2 separate regions of the Homo sapiens genome follow, and region 2 is linked to region 1. The links are contacts of gene promoters, found by promoter capture Hi-C in blood cells and fetal thymus (Javierre and others, 2016). All regions are on one chromosome and are shown on one strand. Each heading gives the region's core, a stretch centred on a gene start or on the middle of the fragment in contact. The rest is flanking DNA. Distances are from core to core; before and after follow the strand shown. Region 1 holds the start of RD3L (RD3 like). Region 2 has its middle 19 kb from the start of TMEM179.

Region 1 (3,639 bases), core at 675-3,174:
CATTTTAGTTAAAAGCATACTATTCAATGAAAACATAGCATGTTTAGAGTGGTTAAAAAAAGAACACTATTTAAAACATAGGCTACATCCACAGGATACTGACCTTGTAACAAAGAAAAACTTGAAGTCACATCACTTTTTCTTATTCTTAATATTAGGAGTTCTAAGGTGTTCATAAAAACCCCTCTAGTTGTAAGTAACTTAACTAGATGGGTGATAATATGGTAGGTTCCATATTCTGTGTGAGAACACTGGGAACCTGTCCTTTGTGTTTTTGTCTACGTAACTGGAAATGGTGGGTATTTCATCTTTGTCTGCCCTCTTGGAGCTGTCACCTTGGATCACAGAAGGAGCAGAGCAGTCCATGCTCCCTGAGTCCTCCAGGTCCTCTTGCTCACTCCCTCTGTCAGAGCTGCTTAGGAAGTCTTTCAGAACTTGCTTGAAGATGTAGACTATTTCCCATGGCAGTACATCATTTTCTGCCAAAACTTCTCGAAATCTAGAGGGGAAATGGTAATGAATATTCAGTTTAGAACATTTTTTGTTATATCTCTTTATCTCCAAAATACAGCTTGAATAATGTATACAAGTTACCCACCTTTTGAGTATTTTGCATGTTGTTTTAAAATTATGCTTCTAGTAAAGAAATTTTAAATGTAATTTAAAACAATTGCTCACCAGACATCTACACAGTTAAAGAATTTACATGATAGAATACAGTTTCTAGTCAAAATATATGAGGAACTTGGACTTAGCAGTAGCAGGAATCATAAGAGAACATAGTATTTTTACCTGCTGAGAATAGTTCCAGTTTGGCAAGGTTGAACTTGTGAGCAAAGAACTTCAAGTTGTCTTTGTTCAGTCACTGGGATAGTTGTGTGGGGATTCTGGTAGTTTCTGAGCCAGTTGTAATCCACACCTGTTTTTTTCACTTTTTGTTCATTTTCGATTTCTTGTATTAATCTCTCTCGCTCCTTTAGGTGCCATTTTAATTCCCGAAGCAGAGTCTTTGTCACTATGTCTGAGCCAGGATAGTGTGTGGGTTTGTAGGAATCGTTTTTGGGCCATTTCATCCAGCCAAAAAGTGGCATTTTTAGCCTATGGAAATATTTTCACTTGTTTATTTGCTCAAAATGTTATGTTCTTCTGAGCAAATATTTGTTTCTTTACAATAAATTTGCCCGAAAAGTGCACGATTTTTTTTCACATTTAGCTATGCAGGTCAAAATAAGATTAGAACATGGATTAACGTCTTAATTTTTAACTAGGTCAGTGGCAGAAACCAAGCTTTGAAAATGCTTTTATGTAGCTTAGCAGAAATTAGATATACAAAGTCAGAGATAACATATAGACTGAATGATATCCGAAAATAACACTAACACTTGCTGTGAAAAGTTCTTAAGAGACTTAAAATATTAATGTCGGGGCAAGTGCTGCCTACAGATACTTTTGATTTATGTTTTGGACAGAAAAGGTTTAAAGCTTACCTGTTAAGTTGATGGGCTGATGTGATGTTGCCAAAGAGTTGACTGAAGTTGGTGACGAAGCTGTGTTTCACTGGGACGTATCTTGCTCTCCTAGGTGTGTCCTCTGTAGAAGGAATGCGCCACCTTATTTACCCACCGAAACTGTATTTGAAATAAATAACTTTCTGTGTTAGGAATGAGGCTGTGATGTCTTCATTTGGAGAGAATGCTCATTAATTCACCTTGTAAGTAAGCTAGAAGAAATGACAAAAATAACTGACTATTTAATCTTCACAAGTTATATAATGGTCTGCCTTTTCAATGTAGCTCAGTCTATTTGAAAAAAATGCCAGCAGCTATAGATGCTGGTCCTAAATGCATTCCGACATGTCTTTGGTAGTGAAACGAAGAATGGTCGTCTAAAGCACCATAGATGCGCTCCGAGCTAGAGTGAAGACTGTCGCGTGATGTGATGCTTTGCTGTGCATAGCTGTAGGTCACAGTTTAGTGCTGTATTTTTATGCCTGTAGAGCTCTAAAAATAGCCACGTTGCTTTTATTCTTCAGCTTAACTTTCAGGCCATTTGGAAGCCGGGTCACTGTCCCCTCTAGTGAAAACAGGAAAAATAGATTAGACTTGACTATTTGCAAAACATACATTCTGAGAAAACTCATTGTAATTGAGTGAAATAGGTAAAGAATGCTGATGTGAATTATAATTGTGAAATATTTAGCAAATGTTACATTTTGTATTCATTTTGGTTTTTTCAAAATAGTTAAATTTGTATATTTAAGCAAGTTGAAATGCTAGGGGACATAATAAACAGCTAGATAACTTTAAAATATACTTTATAATCTCTGAAAATATGGTAATAAGGCAGTAATTGGTTGTCAGGGAAAAATAGAGGCATAAGAACATACAAAATTCTAAACAAAATCTTATAATTCATCGTAGAAAAATCATTTTCGTGTTTTTTTTTTGGAGCTGAGGATGAAAAACTTATATTTACTATTTAGGTGCATATTGGTTTGTAATGGTCATTATTGTGCTATTTCTTTTTTCTTTCTTTCTTTTTTTTGAGACAGAGTCACGTTGTGTCACCCAGGCTGTAGTGCAGTGGCATGATCACGGCTCACTGTAGCCTCGACCTCCTGGGCTCAAGTGATCCTCCCACCTCAGCCCCCTGAATAGCCAGGACCATAGGTGCATGCCACCACAGGTGCATGCTACGGCATGCCTGGCTAGTTTAAAAAAATATATACACACGCACATATGTACATACATATATGTTTTATATATGTACATATGTGTATGTATTTTATATATGTACATATATGTATATATACACATAAGTATATATACGCATATGTATATGTATTATATATGTATATATAAATATACACACATATATAATACACACATATATACACACACACATACATTTCTTTTTTTTTTTTTTTTGTAGAAATAAGGTCTCCCTGTGTTGCCCAGGCTGGTCCGTAAACTGGGCTCAAGTAATCCACCTGCCTCAGCCTCCCAAAGTGCTGGGATTACAGGCATGAGCCACTGCGCTGGCCTGTGCTAATTTCCTATGCAAGTGTTTGTCTTTTGCTAAAGAGTAGATAGTATAAAAGGTCTTTTACTCCCCAGTTCTCTGTGAAACGACTGCATAGTGGTTTTCCCTTTTATAGTATTTGTTTCTTCTGTTGCTTTTCCTTTCAAGTGAGCCATGAAGAGTAGACGTTGTTTACATCAGACTTGCATGTCATGCATGACCCAGAGTGACGTGTGTGGCCACCCTACAGCTCCTGTTGCTTAGATGTTAGAAAAAGCCAGATGTCAGGACTGATTATTGTCAACTGGAAGGTTTTCACATGACATTGCATATACTGTTAGGAGAAGGAAAGGAGTAAAGTTTATGATGACAGAAGTGTCCTACCAAATTTTATACTAAAATTACAGCGAATCTTGCCGCATACTCCTTTGAATAACCTCCTTGTTACTGCATAAATTTTTTTCCTCTGAAATGGTAACAAAAATATCAGAACATATTGGATATGGAACTTAAGCCAAATTTCTGTTCAAGGCCCTCTGCAGTCTCACATTATCCCTCCTTCAAGGCCCTCTACAGTCTTACGTTATCCCTCCTTACCTGGCTTGCTTTCTTGCTCGA
Region 2 (3,639 bases), core at 406-2,905, 680 kb after region 1:
GATCGCACCATTGCACTCTAGCCTGGAGACAGGGTGAGACTCTGTCTCAAAAAAAAAAAAAAGAGAAAGAAAAAAGAAAGGAGAGAGAGAAAGGAAGAGAAAGAAGGGAGGGAGGGAAAGAGAGAGAGGAAGGAAGGGAGGGAGGGAGGGAAAGAGAGAGAGAGGGAGGGAGGGAGGGAGGGAGGGAAAGAGAGAGAGAGGGAGGGACGGGGGAGAAAGAAAGAAAGAAAGAACCCAGGGAAAAGGTTGACAGGTTTATCTCCCTTTTGGTATGTGTTTAGATTTCCAAGCCAGATGAAAATCAGGACCGTTACTTTACATCCCAAAGAACTGTAAATCTGGGACCTTTCCCTTCTCTTCTCAGAGAGGATCTGTTGACATTAGAAAATAAGGTTTATCTTACACTCTCCCATGGGTGTAACAGTTCCTACATCAGCTCTAAGACTCATAATCTTCAGGTTTCCCTCCTGTAGAGCAAAACCCCCTTTTGCACAGGCAGCCTCCTCTCGCTATCACCACATTGTCCCAGGTGGGCAGCAGTCACGAGGAACCAATGCCAATATGTTCTGTAAATAAAAAGTGGGTCTCCCTCTAATCCAGAAATGTTATGCTCACTCGTAGGATTGTCAGTGGTGTTGGAAGCAGAGCGACTCCATCTTGAGTGAGGGCTGGAAAATGATGTGCTCGCCCGTAGGATTGTCAGAGGCGTTCGAACCAGAGCGACTTCATCTTCAGTGAGGGCTGGAAAATGAGACGGGGATTTGCTGAGCTGCATCCTCAGAAAGTGAGGCATTCCAAGCCTCTAGATGTTTACAGTTAAGGGAACAAATGAATAATGTTTACTAAACAGACCCAGACTTGGGAGTGTTCGGCTATCCCAATATCTAGAGAACAACGGCATTCCTAATTTTGCTTTAAAGGTAATAATATCAATCCTTGCAAAATATAGCAATTAAGAAAATTAATTCTTTATCACAAACCCTTGTAGCAGAGCGCATCTCCCCATATATACCAGCATTGTACCTAGGGTGGACGCGTTCCTCCTCTTACTTTCGGGAACGCTCTACTCTGTCTACGAAGTAGCTGTCCTTTTACCACTTTACTTCCTTAATAAGCTCGCTTTTACTTTGCACTGTGGGCTCGCCCTGAATTCTTTCTTGTGTGAGATCCACGAACCCTCTCTTCGAGTCTGGATCAGGACCCCTTGTCCTATAACAGGATGAAATAGATAAGCATAGATATACAAATATATCAATATCTAGTGAAGCTTCCCTTCAAATATCAAAACTATGGAAAACAGTTTTAACAATACAAGAACTTAGAACATTCTGAACCAGGAGCCCTTGTCTTATTTTTTTATTTATTTATTTTTTTTTTGAGATAGAGTCTCTCACTGGGACGCCCAGGCTGGAGTGCAGCAGGAGTGCAATGGGGCAATCTTGACTCACTGCAACTTCTGCCTCCTGGGTCCAAGTGATTCTCCTGCCCCAGCCTCCCTAGTACCTGGGATTACAGGTGTGCGTCACCACACTTGGCTAATTTTTGTATTTTTAGTAGTGATGGGGTTTCACTATGTTGGCCTGGCTGGTCTCAAACTCCTGACCTCAAGTGATCCGCCCACCTCAGCCTCCCAAAGTGCTGGGATTACAGGTGTGAGCCACCGCACCCGGCCCAAGAGCCCTTCTTGAAGAATCTACTAGAATATTAACTTCATCCAACCCAAAAGATGACTGTGCTCCTTCAGCACAAGGAGCATCATAAGGGCAGAGGGTGAAAGGTTCATAACTAATGTTGTGTGCAGTGACAAGGTAGGAATATCGCAACTTTGAAACGCTGGAGAAGAGAGAGGGAAGGAGGAAAATAGCATCAGCTCACTTACGGTGACACAGGCAATCAGGGGGACAGTTAGTTACTGCCCAAAACTAACAAACCCACGGTGAAAGTTTAGGTGAGAAAACAGGAAACTAAGGGCACTTAAAAAGGATAAGCAATCCTTAGAATAAAAATACAAACCCCTGAGAAAAATAACAGGAAAGAAAGAGCAAAGCTTACACATCACATGGCGAATGTCACGATATACACATATTAGAAAATATTATAACAGCTGACGCTGAATGCATGAATCTGTCTTGGTCCTGTTAGGCTGCTCTAACAAATACCTACAACTGGGAAGTTCACAGGCAACACAGTTCTTGGGGCTGAGAACTCCAAGGTCAATGTGCCAGCAGATTCGATGCCTGTGAGGGTGCTTTCCACGTGTCCTCACAAGGCGAAGCGGCAAGCGGTTCCCTCGGGCCTTAACAAGGGCCTTAACAGGGCACTAATCCTGTTCCAAATGGGCAGCCCTTCTCACATCCTAGTACAACACCTTGGGAGCTGGGTTTCAACATAGGAATTTTGGGGGGACGTGAACACTTAGACCATCACAAAGTCATGGGCTTGATTCACTTACCACAGGAAAAAAAATCACTTTGGCTCACAAGTGACATCCAACTACATGCTGTATTCAAGACACAGCTGAAGTAAAGTGATCCAAAATGCTGGAATTGAAGGGATGAACGAAGGTACATGAGTCATATAAATGCAGCAAGAAAAGAAATGGGGACCACGCTAGCAGGCAAGGTAAAATTCAAGACAAAAAAGCCTTAGGCAGCACGAAGAAGGACTTTTTAATGCAAAAAGACAAGATTCACGCAAAGATCAGTTATGCAACAAGTAACTCAGGGCCAGATGTGGTGGCTCATGCCTGTAACCCCAGCACTTTGGGAAGCTGAGGCAGGCAGATTGCTTGAGCCTCAGGAGTTCAAGACCAGCCTGGGCAACATGGCGAAACCCAGTCTCTACGAAAATTAGCTGGGCATGGTGGGCATGCCTTGGTCCCAGCTACTAGGAAGGCTGAGGTGGGAGGATTGCTTGAGTCCAGGAGGTTGAGGCTACAGTGAGCCGAGATCATGCCACTGCACTCCAGCCTGGGTGACAGAGCGAGACCCTGTCTCAAAAGTAAATAAATAAAAATAACTCAGCAACCACCTTCAAGGAGCAAAAACACAGAAACTGTAAGGAGTCATAGCAGCAAACTAGCAATAGGAAACGTTAGCATATCACTCCCGGAGCAAGGCGGCTCAAGGGAACAAAAAAATAAGTAAAGTGGGTCGGCTTGTGTCCGCCAGGAAGCAGGCAGGCGCTGAAGTCAGGATGTAAGAGGTGCATTAGGGGCAGCACCTACGGAAGGTGAAGGTGAAGCAGGCACAGGATTGGACAGGCAGAGCCGGGGGCTGAGACGTATGTCTCACAAAGTCTCAACAACCCTGGGGGAGGTTTAAGGCAAAGACTGCATGAAAGGCCCAGGTGAACAAAACTGGCCAGGTCCTCATCCCATGCCTGCCCCTGCCATTGCCTGAGGCTGCCCAGGAAGAACAAGGCCTGCTGCAAGCATTGTGGCAGCCCCGGAAGGGGCTACAGCTGCAGGCCATTGGCTAACTGCTCCTCTCCAGCAGAGAGACAAATGCTTCTGGAAAGGAGATCTGAGCAGCTCACCTCCCTGGCTGCCACATAGAACACAGAAGATCTAAACAACACAGCGGCTCCAGTAGAGCCAGTGGGTGCATTTTATATTCACACACACACACACACACAGAC

What was found. The method cuts DNA at HindIII sites, captures the fragments that hold promoters and counts their contacts. A CHiCAGO score of 5 or more calls a contact.
Region 2: a fragment that was not itself captured here is called in contact with the fragment with the promoter of RD3L in region 1 in 1 of 17 cell types (endothelial precursors); the score reaches 7.4 in endothelial precursors.

The regions. Positions count from the first base shown.
Region 1 is chr14:103,940,605-103,944,243 of GRCh38, forward strand. RD3L (RD3 like) reads right to left here and starts at 1,925. Exons shown (of 3, transcript NM_001257268.2): 1 at 1,488-1,925; 2 at 793-1,098; 3 at 1-499. The coding sequence starts at 1,091. The coding sequence ends at 202. All of the region lies in intron 1 of TDRD9 (tudor domain containing 9), which reads left to right. The HindIII fragment of the contact is 3,550 bases long and covers 1,481-3,639 here.
Region 2 is chr14:104,621,728-104,625,366 of GRCh38, forward strand. No RefSeq gene overlaps it. Among named protein-coding and RNA genes, the nearest start is that of TMEM179, 19 kb to the left of the region's middle. The HindIII fragment of the contact is 780 bases long and covers 1,266-2,045 here.